Linked DNA regions of Homo sapiens: all the other regions are linked to region 1. The links are contacts of gene promoters, found by promoter capture Hi-C in blood cells and fetal thymus (Javierre and others, 2016). All regions are on one chromosome and are shown on one strand. Each heading gives the region's core, a stretch centred on a gene start or on the middle of the fragment in contact. The rest is flanking DNA. Distances are from core to core; before and after follow the strand shown.

Region 1 (3,736 bases), core at 507-3,006:
ATAAGTGGGATGCTGACTCCGTTTATTCATTCAACAAGTATTTATCAAGTGCTGGACACAGTGCCGAGCTCTCTGTTCAGTGGCAAGGGGCCTGCCCAGATGAATTAGGGCAGGCTCCATCCTGGAGGTGCTCAGTTTGGTGGAGGCCAGGTAACTAAATTTGTCCTTGCTACCTAATGTGCTGTGTGCCCTCACCAAGTTTGAACACAAGCCTCTGGGGCAAGAATGAGGGATTTACCCTGACTGAGGGGACCACGAGCCCACAGAACCAGAGGGACTTGAACTGTGCATTTCCAAGGCTGAGGTGTGGGATTAGGTGGTACCCAGGAAGGGGGTTTGGCTGTTTGTGGCAGTTCCAAGCTAAGGAATCGAGTCCACAAGCAGTCTTGAAAGAGCTGACTCTAGCCAGGCGCAGTGGCTCAGGCCTGTAATCCCAGCACTTTGGGAGGTCGAGGCGGGCGGATCGCTTGAGTCCAGGAGTTTGAGACCAGCCTAGGTAACATGGCGAAACCCCGTCTCTACAAAAAAATAAAACTACAAAAAATTAGTTGGGTGCAGTGGCGTGCGCCTGTTGTCCCAGCTACTCGTGGGGGCTGAAGTGAGAGGATCGCTTGAGCCCGGGCTGTCTGTCGAGGCTGCAGTGAGCCATGCACTACAGCCTGGGTGACAGAGTGAGACCCTGTCTCCCAAACAAACAAACAAAAAGAGCTGACTCCCTCGGAACAAACTAGCTTGGTGGGGCTTGAGCTTTGAAGTTTGGGATTGGGGAGAGAGAGCAATGGAGCCAGATAAAGTTCAGACCTGCTCCCTTACGGCAGGAAACAGAGGGCCAAGGGCAGTTTCGAAGCAGGATCAGATCTACATTTTAGTTAGATATAACCAGACGATTTCTAATATCCTCTCTCCTCCCTGAGTCTCTATAAGTGCCAAATGCGTTGTACAGGAAGCAAGGGGGAGGATGTCAGAGTTCAAGCAGAGAAGCAAGAGGGGGTTAAAAACGTTGTTGGCTCTTCCCAACTCAGTATGGGCTGCCTGGCTGGCTCAAGGGAACACAAAAAAGGGACAGACAAAATACGTTTAAGAAATAACATTAAATATTTATTAAAATGTATTCTATTGATTATATACAAGTTCTTTGTTTTGTTTTGTTTTGTTTTGTTTTTGAGACGGAGTCTCGCTCTGTCGCCCAGGCTGGAGTGCAGTGGCGCGATCTCGGCTCACTGCAAGCTCCACCTCCGGGGTTCACGCCATTCTCCTGCCTCAGCTTCCCGAGTAGCTGGGACTACAGGCGCCCGCCACTATGCCCGGCTAATTTTTTTGTATTTTTTTTTAGTATAGACGGGGTTTCACTGTGTTAGCCAGGATGGTCTCGATCTCCTGACCTCATGATCCGCCCGCCTCGGCCTCCCAAAGTGCTGGGATTACAGGCGTAGAATCATCTGTACGTGAGACTGGAAGTAAGCTCACTTTGAACTCTCCTTGAGGCCAGGGATGTTGTGTAGCTCATCTTTGTATTCCCAGCACCTAGCACAGAATAAGGCACACAAGAGGCGCTCAGCAAATATGGGAGGAGGAAGGGCGGAAAAAGGGGAGGGAGGAAATCGCCCTTAGGAGACACCCTCTTTCCGCGGCGGTTCCTCAACTCGGGACTTCTGACCTCCCACCAGCAGATGGCAAGAAAGAGTCCCGGCGCGCCAGCAAAGGGCTGAGCTGGGCGGAGCAGCTGAAAATCCGGCGCGCGCAGTCTCCAGCCCCAATTTCTACGCGCACCGGAAGACGGAGGTCCTCTTTCCTTGCCTAACGCAGCCATGGTAAGCCGTTTAGTTAGCGAGCTCTTAGGACGTATCCGCCTCCATCCTCCCCCGGCCGGGGCTGCCCGAGGTTTCGGGATTCCTACTGGGGATGGCCGGGCAGAGGCGAAGGGATCACGGCCTCCGTGGTAGGCCGGGACGGGCTCCAGGGCGAAGGGCGAACGCTGGCCTAGGGTTGGGGAGGCGCAGATCTGGTGCTGCTGTTGGGAAGGCCTCGGTTTCTGACCCGGCCATACGTCCTGATCCCGGGAGAAGCTGCTTTTCCTCCCGGGCCGGAGCCGCGGCTGGGCCAGGAGCTCAGACTGCGAGCCCGAGGTTGGTGGGCGCTGGGGGTGCCCGGCGGAGAAAGGTTTTCTTTGTCATTGCCTTTTTGGCACGGCCTGACTTTACCATACGTGGCCGGTAAGCATCTGGACACAGCATTAAAAAGGCTTCCTTACTCTTTTTAAAGTAAAATTGGTGTCAGCTTTTGGCTTTAGTGTACGAAGGAGCAGCACATGTGTTTGTGCGGATGTCAGAATCTTGTTCCATACGTGTCAAAAACAGACGGTAATAAATTGTGAAAACTTTAGAAACACAGGTAGACTCCTGGCTCATTTCTGTTGCTGTGCGTTTCACTAGTATGGTGTTCTTGAAAGACCCTAACCTCTAAGCAGATACAGTTTCAAACAGTAACATGGAAACACTTTAGCAAGGTTCTGAAAGATAGTAATCAGTAAACGTTCTGAAACATAGTAACCAAGAATATTCTCTGTTACAATAAGAAGGCTTGTTGCAGCTTATGGATCTCACGGTGTTTGTTAAATAACTGTGTTTGTTTCTGTTTTATCGGAACACTATACTTTAATATTGTCCACATTTTGCTGAAGATGAAACTAAACTAAGAGTTTAGTTTCACACTAGGTTTTATAAGCTGTTCTGAAACCTGATTAACAGCATTGCAATCTAAAACTTTCAGGCTCGTGGTCCCAAGAAGCATCTGAAGCGGGTGGCAGCTCCAAAGCATTGGATGCTGGATAAATTGACCGGTGTGTTTGTAAGTATCTTATATAAATATTTCCGTGGCCACTGTTTTTAAGTGTCTCCCAGGACTCATTTGGGGACCAGGCTAGGGGAGGAATATCTATTCTTGGCTTCCTCTGCCCTTGAAGGAGCTATACTATCTAGCTGTCCTCCACTTCCAATCGATTTAATATTTTTGTGCCTCATTTATTCCACATACCACATAGTACATTTACATGGACTCAGGATTCATGTTCTTAATGATCCTGGTCCTCTGACAGGGAAGATGCTATAAAACTTTAAGGTATGAAATAGTTTTGGATGCTTTTTACACCTCCTGTGTAAAAGTCCAAGTTGGGTGTAATATGGACGGTCTTGGTGTTCAGTTAGTGGATCTGGTGGACTAGGAGGTAGGTTTGAGTGCTTTAGTGAATCCCAACAGTGATTATCATTTTTAACGTTACAGGCTCCTCGTCCATCCACCGGTCCCCACAAGTTGAGAGAGTGTCTCCCCCTCATCATTTTCCTGAGGAACAGACTTAAGTATGCCCTGACAGGAGATGAAGTAAAGAAGATTTGCATGCAGCGGTTCATTAAAATCGATGGCAAGGTCCGAACTGATATAACCTACCCTGCTGGATTCATGGGTAAGAAGTTTTAAATACTCTGGAGACGCATATTGATGGCAGCCCTATGGTATCCAAATACTGTCTTGATCATTTTTCTAACCTTTGTAATCTGTCAAGTCTCAGAAACAAAGCCTGACCTTCCCTCTGTTTTTTACTTAAATAAAAAACATGCAAATAATCATGAAACGCTTTTCAAAACTAAATTTCGATTCACTTTTAAATTTTACATGCAGTCATGGGGTTTTGAAATATTGAAGATCTGGCCGTGATCTTTAATCTTCAGAATCCTTGTTG
Region 2 (3,736 bases), core at 852-3,351, 440 kb before region 1:
CCAACATGGTGAAACCCCGTCTCTACTAAAAATACAAAAATTAGCCGGGAGTGGTGGCAGGCGCCTGTAATCCCAGCTATTCGGGAGGCTGAGGCAGGAGAGAATAGTTTGAACCCGGGAAGTGGATGTTGCAGTGAGCGGAGATCGCGTCACTGCACTCCAGCCTGACCGACAGAGCGAGACTCCGCCTCAAAAAATAAAAATAAAAAAAGATGCAAGTCCAAGATGCACTTGCTTTCCATGGAGAGACTTTTTCTTCCACTGTGCACCTAGATTTTGAAGTGGCTTGTTATTTGCCAGTCATTGCATTTGCGTGGCGAATCACTGCAATGGAAAGCATCTCCTTGAGAACTCTAAGTGTGTCACGATATCTAACTATATCACTGGCTGTTGAACCTGAAAGTCCCATATTTGAGTTCTTAAACATTCCCTCCTTCCTCATCATCATTACCAAATTACTAGTCATCTCCTAGGTGCCTGCCTCTATGCTAAATTGGGCGGAGGTTTTGGGGTGGAATGGAGGGAGCTTATGAGGAGAGAAATAAAAAGATAAACGAAAATGCAAAGTCACCGTGGCCTGGATGAGGTGGCTAAGGAAGGTTTAGAACTTGAAGTCAATCGGTCTAATTTTCTTATCCCGCGATTCAGGGAATAGGTGGTACTTAAGCAGAGCCTTGAAAGGTTTGCAAGGTTTGAATAAGCAGAGAGCAACAGGTGGGGGATGGAGGGAGGAGCCGGAGATGAACGGAGCAAAGGCACTGGGGTCCAAGCCGGGCCGCCCCAAGGGTTGCAGACTGATTCCACGAGGCCAGTAAGCAGCGTTATCTGCAAGCTGCTGCCTTTTTTTTTTCTTTTTTTGAAACGGAGTTTCGCTCTTGTCTCCCAGGCTGGAGTGCAGTGACGCGATCTTGGCTCACTGCAACCTCCACTTCCAGGGTTCAAGCGATTATCCTGCCTCAGCTTCCCGAGTAGCTGGGACTACAGGAGCGCCCCACCACGCCCGGCTAATTTTTGTATTTGTATCGGCGGCGGGGGAAGCGGGGGGGGGGGTTTCCTCCATGTTGGCCAGGCTGGTCTTGAACTCCTGACCTCAAGTGATCCGCCCACTTCAGGCTCCCAAAGTGCTGGGATTACAGGCGTGAGCCACCGCACCCGGCCACTACAAGCTGCTTTTATTATTTTATTTTTATTTTATTTTTTTTGAGACGGAGTCTTACTCTGTCGCCTGGGCTAGAGTGCAGTGGCACGATCTTGGCTCACTGCAACCTCTGCCTCCTGGGTTCAAGCGATTTTCCCGCCTCAGCCTCCCGAGTAGCTGGGATTACAGGCGCGCGCCACCATGCCGGGCTAATTTTGTATTTTTAGTAGAGATGGGGTTCCGCCATGTTGGCCAGGCTGGTCTCGGACTCTTGACTTCAGGTGATCTGCCCTCCTCAGCCTCCCAAAGTGCTGGGATTACAGGAGTGAGCCACCGCGCCCGGCCTCCAAGCTTCTTACGCAGCCTTCCTTCTCCACTTTATTTTCAGCTGAATATTTGTTGCCTCAGCCTTGTGACCTACGTGCGCACGAGGGAGCCATCCAAAGCAGTTATAGGATCTCTTCCAGCTCGAGTCCTGCCAACGCCGCCTTCTGGGGCTGCCAGCTCCCAGCTGTTCCCCGCACTGGCTTCCTCAGAGTGCACCACTGCCTCCTCCCTCCCAAGCCCGCAGACTCGCCAGTTACTAAGGAGTAAAGTACCCTAGGGAGTTCCTGTTTGGTTGGTCTGGCTGGAAGTGAGGCGTGTAATCTGAGCTTTTAAAGTCAAAATCTAAAATACAATAAAGACCCAGAAATCCAAGTCTTCAGACCTGGAACACAAGCGTGTCTTTCAGTTTTGAAGTTCACTGTAGGTTCCTTTATAAAACTAGTCCTGTAGAACGAAGGAGAGCCTCCCCAACATCCTGTGTGCACAGCAAGTGTGGAAAACTGAAATAGTGATCTGAGGTGTTTCGAAAATAAACCTCGGAAAGCACATTGCCTACGGTGACACATTCTCGGCCCCGGGGCGGGCGAGCCCCGGGGTCGCAGCGCGCAGCTGCCAGAACCAGTCGCGCCCGCCCCGCCTCCCGCTCGCGTCTCCCGCAAGGTGGAGGCGGCGCAGCGGTCGTTGACCTGTTGGCGGCGGCCGGGCGGGAGGCTGTGGGCCGCGGCGGTCTCCCGGGGTTGAGGGGAGGATGCAGGAGTCACACGCGGAGGCCGGACTGGACTAAGGGGGCAGGAGCGGCGCCTGGGGCGCTGCGGCGGGGCTCTAGACCGCGGGAAGCCAGTGCTAGCGCTGGCGCGTGGTGGGCCCCTGAGGCCGCCGGAGTCCGGAGAGGTACGCGGAATCCGCGGCGCCAGGCCTGAGCGGTGGGAGGGCTCTGCGGGGCCTGGTGTTCAGGCGTCCCACCACGAGGGTGGAGCAGCGTTGGATACTTGTTCCTTAGGGACCGAAGGCTCCGGTGGCACCCGGGCTATTTCTCAGAGGACAATTAGTAACGTGTCGCCATGAGGAGCCGGAGTAACTCCGGGGTCCGGCTGGACGGCTACGCTCGACTGGTGCAACAGACCATCCTGTGCCATCAGGTAACTGCAGGGGTGTCTCTCGTAATCACCGAGCGAGGATGTAGCTTGTCATAGCTTGGACGGAGACCTTGGATGAACTCCGTGCGTGCGTGCGTGTGTGGGTGTGTGTGTGTGTGTGTGTGTGTGTGTGTGACGGAGACCTTGCATGAACTCCGCGTGTGTGTTTGTGTGTGTATCTGTATCTGTCTGTAGCAGGTTCTCCCGCCCCTGTTAATTATATATTTTTTCTGCTGGTTTTTCATTGCTAGTTCGCTAGTTCATTCTAACTAGAAAGGTAAAACTTTCTTTTAATAATACCCATTATAAATGCACTTAATAATACCTTTAATTGTGCCTTTAATAATACCCACATTTCAGACTCGAAAGGCTTCAGCCACCGCTTACCCCTTATTCAAGATAGTATTTGCAAAGGGCACAAAGTTTCAGTTATAAGATGAGTAAGTTCTGGGGATCTGATGTACAGCAGCATGGTGACTGTAGTTAATCATACTGTACTGTATACTTGAAATTTACTAAGAGAGTAGATCTTAAGTATTCTCACCACACCAAAAAAAAAGGTAGCTGTGAGGTAATAGATGTGTTAATAAACGTCATTTTGGTAATTTTCCAATGAATACATAAATCATCATGTTGTACTCCCTAAATATACACAATTTTTAATGTGTTGAATATAGCTCAGTAAAGCTTGGGAAGGTGGGAAGATAGCATTTGCCTGCAATAGGTCAGAAGAAGAGGAGGTTATAAAACTCAAGAGTGGAGAAGTAGAAGAAAGACCAAAGTCCCTAAAAAACCCATTTGGAAGATTCTGTTTCCTGATGTTAACACCTATGGTTACCTTCCTGCCCTCTTTTTCTTGACCTTGCAGAATCCAGTGACTGGCTTGCTTCCAGCCAGCTATGATCAGAAAGATGCTTGGGTCCGAGATAATGTGTACAGCATCTTGGCTGTGTGGGGTTTGGGCCTGGCCTATCGGAAGAATGCAGACCGGGATGAGGATAAGGCAAAGGCCTATGAATTGGAGCAGGTACTCAAAATAAAAATACAAAGAGATCTGGAGCTATGTGTGATTGGGGGTTGGGGGCAGAGTGGGGACTGAAGGAAGTGAAACCCACCAAAAGCTAAGAGAACTGTA
Region 3 (3,736 bases), core at 856-3,355, 290 kb before region 1:
TCAAAGACAAAGGGCTTGTGAAAAGGCTCTTCCTAGGTGCTTCTTGGAGTTAGAGGAGAAGTCCTTTGGAGTGTTTGTTTGTTTATTTGTTTGTTTGTTTTTGAGACAGAGTCTCGCCCTGTCGTTCAGGCTAGAGTGCAGTTGCGCGATCTCAGCTTACTGCAACCTCCTCCTTCCCAGTTCAAGTGATTCTCCTGCCTCAGCCTCCTGAGTAGCTGGAATTACAGGCACCCGCCATCATGCCCAGCTAATTTTTGTATTTTTGTAGAGACAGGGTTTCACCACGTTGGCCAGGCTGGTCTTAAACTCCTGACCTCAGGTGATCTGCCTGCCTTGGCCTCCCAAAGTGCTGGGATTACAGGGGTGAGCCACCGCGCCTGGCCACCTTCTAGAGTTTTATGTTAACATGTCAAACTGCAGTAGTCTGTCTGAGAAGGATTGCTGGGCCCTCCTTCAGCATTTGGGACTTTGTTTGATATTTCTGTAGTACTTAATCCACATTGAAGAAGAAGGATTTTTTAAACTCTGAATTTATCGATCCTCTGTCTGAGAGAAATGAAGCCACTGTGGTAGTAACTGCCAATGCCTCACTCAGGAATCAATTGTTCATGCAATCAACCGTGACCTTAGGTGCTCTTAGGTCAAGAGAAAACAACACTTTGTTTTTCAGAATAAAACACAGCACAACTTCAGCATATGCAGGTTAAGATAATAACAGAATTTTTTCCATCAAATTGACAGATTTTGTGGCCAAGGAAGTCCTTGAAAAAGTTTACTGCTAGAATTTACTAGTTGGGCAACACAGCAAAGGAAACCAATGTTTTAGTAATGAGTCTTACATGGTTTTAAAAACAGAGACAAGCTGCCTTTTGTTAGCTTTTGCTTGCTTGCCTGCTTGCTTTTTTCTTGCTTTGTTTGTTTGTTTGTTTGTTTTTTGTTTTTTGTTTTTTAATAAAGACAATGTCTCCCTATGTTGCCCAGGCTGATCTTGAACTCCTGGGCTCAAGGGATCCTCCATCCTCAGCCTCCCAAGGTGCTGGCATTACAGGTATGTGCCACCACACCTGGCCTCTTTCTTTCTTTCTTGTTTTGTTTTTTTCGAGACAGAGTCTCTCTCTGTCACCAAGGCTGGAGTGCAGTGGTGCAATCATAGCTCACTGCAGTCTCGAACTCCTGGGTTCAAGGGATCTGCCCACCTCAGCCTTCTAGGTAGCTAGGACTACAGGCACGTGCCACCATGCTTGGATAATTTTTGTATTTTTTGTAGAGATGAGGTCTTGCTATGTTGCCCAGGCTGGTCTCAAATTCCTGGCCTCAAGTGATCCTCCCACCTTGGCCTCCCAAAGTGCTGGCATTACACATGACAGCCACTGCACACCGCCTGCCTTTTTTTTAAATTCAAAATAAAGACAATGACTGCTAGGAGAAAAAAAATGACCCTCTCCCCTCCCAGGTGCAGAGTGAAAGGAGAAAGCTAAGCTTCTCTGAACGAAAGACTTCTAGGTCCTCTTGGGCTTGGCAAGTTGAGAAGAAAAGTAGTGTGGCTTCATAGAAAAGGCTTGCTTCTATGAATGACATCCAGTTTATTATGCAATTAAATTAACTGCAGAAGGCCTACTAGGGCCTGGGTCATTTTCCAGTGGAGTACTCTGCTTCTTATTACTGTTTTGCTGCCAAAGGAAGTACACTCTGTCTTGACCCAATCACGACTGCTTCTGGGCTGCACACAGACATGGGGATACCCACATATATCGCCTTAACTGTTGTAGACATCTTTCAGCTGATCCTGCATGGAAACGGACATGCCTGTGATAAATATAAATTACAGAGTCTCTAGAGATTGCCCCAGTTTAGGTCTGAATTCCAAGGTGTTCTTGGCATAACTAGAACCTCTCTGTAGATGGACTACAGGCATTTAGGCCACAAACTTACATCTAGCCAACATTTACCTATTATAATCACAATATTTGCTTAAACTTCCCATCTGCAAATATATGTACAGATTCATACATGCCATTTATTCATTGAACAAGCATTGATTAGGCACCTACTACATGTCAAATGTATGTTTATCATCACCAGTAAGCAGAGATATAGAAATTGAAGCAAGATATATTGTTTCCCCTACCAAGTTTGAAAAAGATTCTTTATTTCAAAATATCCAGGTGGTAGAAGGATTACAGTGAAATTAATACAACCCCTTTTGAAAACCTTGGAAGTGTTAAGAATGGGAAAAAATGTTCATACCAGTTGGGCCAGTAACAATATTCTTGGCAATCTATTCTAAGGAAATAAACCAATTCTACCTGCAAGAAATTTATATCTTAGGAGTAAGACAGCAAATAATTGCATTTGAAAGCTAAAAAAGGATGATTTTCAAAGAATATTCTACAAAAGAAGAGTAACGAAGGACTAATACTATTAGATATTAAGCATCCAAAACTACAGTAATGAAAACACTGGTACAAAAATTAGACAGATAGGTTATAGTACACCCCCCACCCCAACAAAGAGACCAATTATATAGAATTTAATCTATTACAAAGGATGCATTGCAAGTGAATGGGAGTTGAAAGGTCTGTTGAGTAAATGAATGGTATTGTGACAGCTTGTACCATTATACCCTCATCTACTGTAATAAACTAAAATGAGTGACAGCTAGATTGAAAAGTTAAATATTTAAAAAAGCAAATTTTAAACACTAGAGTGAATGGATATTTATCAAGCTTCTAAAGGGGAAGAATTTTCTAAGCTTAGAAAGTAATTTTTTAAAATCACAAAGGAAAAGATCAAACCCGACTGTACAAAATTTTAAAACCAAAATAACTTTTAAAAGGTTTTTTGGCTATTTTCAAAATCTAAACACAGACTGAAAAAGCCTATGTATCATAAATATGACAAAGTGTAATAGGCTTGTATTATCTAACCCACTCCTACAATATAATGTATAAGAAGAAATCTGCACAAAGAACACGAATAGACAATTTACAAAGGAGTTTAAGGACAACTGGAAAACATTGGAAAATGTTCATCACTACTAATCAAAGAAATGTAAATTAAAACCATTAGGTAAGCCTCTTTTTTTTGAGACAGAATCTCGGCTCTGTCATCCAGGCTGGAGTGCAATGGTGTGATCTCGGCTCACTGCATCCTCTGCCTCCCGGGTTCAAGCGATTCTCCTGCCTCAGCCTCTTGAGTAGCTGGGATTACAGGCGCGTGCCACCATGCCCGGCTAATTTTTTTATTTTTAGTAGAGACGGGGTTTCACCGTGTTGGTCAGGCTGGTCTCGAACTCCTGACCTCATGATCTGCCTGCCTCGGCCTCCCAAGGTGCTGGGATTACAGGCATGAGCCACCACTTTTTAAGCCTAAATTTAACAGAATTGAAAAAGATGGTACTCAGTTTCCTAGTGAGTGTGGTTTGGAAGAAAGCATTTTGGTAGCCAATGTGTATTAATGCCCTTTGATCAGGTAATCTTACTTCTGGGAATGTGGCCTAATTTTTTTTTTAAATATGGGAAACAAACTATTTTCATGAAGGTATTTATCAGTGTTATTTATAAAATTTTAAAAACTAAAATAACATGAATGCCTAGCAATAAAGGAATGGTGAATCTACTCCTTAGAATATTATCCTATTGTTTTACTGTTTTTCTTCTGTGCAAAAGCTTTTTGTTTTTATTTATTTATTTATTATTTACTTATGAGACAGGGTCTTGCTCTGTCGCCCAGGCTG
Region 4 (3,736 bases), core at 768-3,267, 260 kb after region 1:
CCACCTTGAGGCCAGGCATCAACACCTGTGCAGCTGGCTGCGAGCACCTGCTGCCAGCTGGCAACATTGAAGGGACACACCACTGGGCAGGTAGCATGGCTGTATTGTAGAAGGGTAATGTATCCAGGTGTCAGCACCCCACAAAGACAAAATCTCCACAGAACTGGAGAGTATTATGTCAGCAGTGGACCCAAAGGTAGCTAGAACTTCCTCTGAACCCACAATTTGGTCTATCCAGAACATTCAGGCCCAATAGGCCCTGCTACCCAGCCCGTCTTCCCCTATATAGAGGGGCATGATGAATGAGTGCACCCTTCTGGGGTGGGTTGTTTCCTAGTTCCACAGGACCCCAACCCACAGACACCAGCATGGAACAGGGGCCACTCCTAATTTCTGGTACTTCCCATCCTCCACCATTCATGATAACTTGCTGTCACCCTGGGCTCTCCTGGATAAAACAGCACAGCCCCACTGGCTCCTAATGTTACCATATGCTGCTTCTCTACTTGGTCCACTCTTCACTCCCTTCTGTGAAGTTCAACAAGGTATGTAATCAAGCCAGAGTTTTGGTGGGTTGGTTTGTTTGTGATCAGGAAAAGGAAGAGTTGCCCCTACTTTGGAAGTACCACTGAACAGCAGAGCAAGTGTCCAGAGCCTCTGTTTATAATAAATATTTACCCTCAGAGCCTGAAGTGTAGGTCCTCACAAATACACAGACACAAATGTGTGTGTCTCTGTGTGTGTGTTTGTGTGTGTGTGTGTTGGGGATGGGTTATGTGGGTTCTTTGACCCCTGAACATCTTTCGTGCAGGCCCCAGTGGTCTTTCTGAAGGAGAAAAAGTTGTGTGGAGAAAAGGAGAAAAGATGTCTCCCTAAATTAATCTATAATCTCATTGCTATTTCAATCAAATCTCCAGAGGAATTTTTCACAGAACCTGACAAACTGATTCTAAAATCCATGTGAAAAAGAATATGTATAAGAAGAGCCAAAACAATTTTTTTGGGGAAAAGAACAAATGAAGGATGACATTATACAAGGTATCAAATCTACAGTAATTAACAGGGTGTGGCATTGGCACAGAAGTAGACAAATGAGTGAAAGAGAACAGAGAGCTCTCAAGCCAACTCATGTAAAGGTGTTAAATAAAATAATAAAAGCTGCATTTATAAGTCAGTGGTGAAAGAATGGACTATTCAACGAATAGTGCTGAAGTAACTAGCTTTCCATTTGATAAAAATTAAATGAGATCCCTACCTCATACTATACACACACATATTCCACATAGCTCAAACAACTAAATATAAAAAAGAATAGAAACCTGTAATGGGAAAAATAGAGATTTATATATTTGTGACTTTGGTATGGAGAAAGTCATTTTAAACAACACACAAACACAACCCAAAAGCCAGGAGGGAGTGGTTGACAAATTTGAATCTACACAAAAGAATAATTTTTTTTTAGGCAAAAGACACCATCAATAAAGTTAAAAGACAAATAATAAACTGGGGAAATATATTTGAAATGTATGTATTAGACAAAGAACAATAAAAATATATAGAGAATTTCTGTAAATCAATAAAAAGGTAAACAACTCAAAATAAATATGGGCAAAGTATATGGACAGGTAATTCAAAAGGAGAGTTACAGATGGCCAACAGACATTTGAAAAGATATTCAGCCTCTGGGAATCAAGGAAAGGCAAATGATAACAACCACCAGATATCATCTTTCACTCATTACATTCGGAACTCAAAGTCTGACTATTATCAAGTGTTGTCAAGAAGTTGAGCAAAACTGCTACTCTCATACACTGCTGGGTGGAGCACAGCCATTATGGGTAGAAATTGGACAACACCCATTAACATGGAAAATGTGCATCCCCTATTACCCAGCAACGCCACTTAGCATCTATCATGAAGAAACTCCTGCACGTGTACACAAATGTTTATTGAATGGATGTTTATTGAAAGATTGTGTTAGCCACCACAATTAAGAAACAACCTAAAAGTTCATCAATGGGTGAATAGTTAAATAAATCCTGATAAAAGTCATACTCTGCAAAGTTACATAACATTTTAAAAGAATAAGTTAGGACTTCTGCTTCTGGGAAGATGGAATGACATACTTTTCCCTGGTCCTCCCTCTAAAGCACAACAAAAAACCGTGAGCATTATATATAAAATGAACACAAAAAGACTGGAGAGGAGGTGGAGAGAAGAATGTACACCTGCAAGAGACCTCAGGACTCAAGGAACGGCATGTGGTGAGTTCCCTGGATTTTTGTTTTGCCTCATATATCCCAGAGTTGAAGCTGAAAAAGTCTGCAAACTGAAAATACCAACAGGGGCAGATTTTTTAAAAATCATGCTCTCTTACCAAGACAGAAATTTTTATACACTAATTCTTTAGCCAAATACCACAGAAAAAAATATGTGGTCCCGTTCCCAACCCCACCAGCAAAGGAGGGGTTGAAAACATAGCTTTTCACCCTTGCTAAGCTATAACCAGGTGCCCCAAATTTCCCCACTGGGGTGAAGTCAGAGAAGGCTGAGCAGGCATCTGGGATAGACCTACTAGATAGAAAATCAGCAAGGGTATATAGGAACTCAACAACACCCTCAAACAACAGGATTTGATTTGACATTTATAGAACATCTCATCCAACAGCAGAAGAGTACACATCCTTTTCAAGTGCCCATGGAATACAAAACATGTTAGACATATCCTGTGTCATAAAACAAATGTCAACAAATTTAAAATAATTGAAATCAAATGAAATGTATTCTGTGACCAAATTGGAAATCAATAACAGAAAGATAAGAAAATATCTAAAACTTGAAAAATAAACAACACACTTTAAAATAACCCATGGGTCAAATATGAAAATTTAAATTTCAAGATAAATTTTAAAAATACATTGAACTGAATCAAAATGAAAATACAACATAGAAAAATTTATGAGATGCAACTAAAGCAATGCTTAAAAAGAAGTTTATAGCTCCAAATGCTTATACTATAAAAGAAAAAAGGTCTCAAATCAATCATCTAAGTTCCTACCTCAAGTAACTAGAACAAGGAGAGCAAAATAAAGCCAAAGCAAACAGAAGGAAGAAAATAATAAAAATAACAGCATAAATAAGCAGAATTGAAAATAGAAAAATAGAGAAAATCAATGAAATAAAGAGCTGCTTCTTTGAAAAGATCAGTAAGATTGACAAACCTCTAGCAAGACATACAAATTGCTCATATCAGGAAGGAAATGAATATCACTACAGAGCCTTCAGACATCAAATGGGTAATAAGGGAATACTATGAACAATGCTACATGCTTTGACAACTTTGATGAAACAGACCAATTTCTTGAAAAATATAAACTTCCCAAATCTACCAAATATGAAATAGATGATTTGAATAGCCCTATAACTATTAAAAACATGAAATTCATAATTTTAAAACTACTCCCTTTAAAATCTCCAGGTCCAGATGGTTTCACTGGAGAATTCTACCAAATGTTTAAAGAATTGTATGCTAATTCTACACAATCAGTGTAACAAACTAATAGAAATCACATGATCATATTAATCAATGCAGAAAAAGCATTTGATAAAATCTAACACTTATTATAAGTTAAAAAAAACTCTGAGAAATAGGGCAAAAAGGGAACTTCCTTAACTTGAGCATCTACATACAACTTACACCAAATATATATATATTTTTTTCTGGATCAAGCAATAT

The links. Contacts are between HindIII fragments. The CHiCAGO score rates a contact against its expected background, and 5 or more counts as called.
Region 2: a contact is called between the fragment with the promoter of PHKA1 here and the fragment with the promoter of RPS4X in region 1, in 1 of 17 cell types (M1 macrophages). The highest score is 9.8, in M1 macrophages.
Region 3: a fragment that was not itself captured here is called in contact with the fragment with the promoter of RPS4X in region 1 in 2 of 17 cell types (endothelial precursors and erythroblasts); the score reaches 5.3 in endothelial precursors.
Region 4: a fragment that was not itself captured here is called in contact with the fragment with the promoter of RPS4X in region 1 in 1 of 17 cell types (neutrophils); the score reaches 5.3 in neutrophils.

The regions. Positions count from the first base shown.
Region 1 is chrX:72,275,268-72,279,003 of GRCh38, reverse strand. RPS4X (ribosomal protein S4 X-linked) reads left to right here and starts at 1,756. Exons shown (of 7, transcript NM_001007.5): 1 at 1,756-1,811; 2 at 2,770-2,847; 3 at 3,280-3,460. The coding sequence starts at 1,809. RefSeq lists enhancers at 1,937-2,006, 2,177-2,256. The HindIII fragment of the contact is 11,342 bases long and covers 1-3,736 here.
Region 2 is chrX:72,712,671-72,716,406 of GRCh38, reverse strand. It overlaps PHKA1 (phosphorylase kinase regulatory subunit alpha 1), which reads left to right and starts at 2,101. Exons shown (of 32, transcript NM_002637.4): 1 at 2,101-2,604; 2 at 3,470-3,628. The coding sequence starts at 2,527. RefSeq lists enhancers at 824-1,812, 1,813-2,797 and a silencer at 1,971-2,120. The HindIII fragment of the contact is 1,799 bases long and covers 1,492-3,290 here.
Region 3 is chrX:72,563,511-72,567,246 of GRCh38, reverse strand. The region is part of intron 4 of HDAC8 (histone deacetylase 8); the gene reads left to right. Among named protein-coding and RNA genes, the nearest start is that of HDAC8, 7.5 kb to the left of the region's middle. The HindIII fragment of the contact is 1,247 bases long and covers 1,482-2,728 here.
Region 4 is chrX:72,013,688-72,017,423 of GRCh38, reverse strand. All of the region lies in intron 1 of NHSL2 (NHS like 2), which reads right to left. Among named protein-coding and RNA genes, the nearest start is that of NHSL2, 100 kb to the right of the region's middle. The HindIII fragment of the contact is 4,070 bases long and covers 1-3,736 here.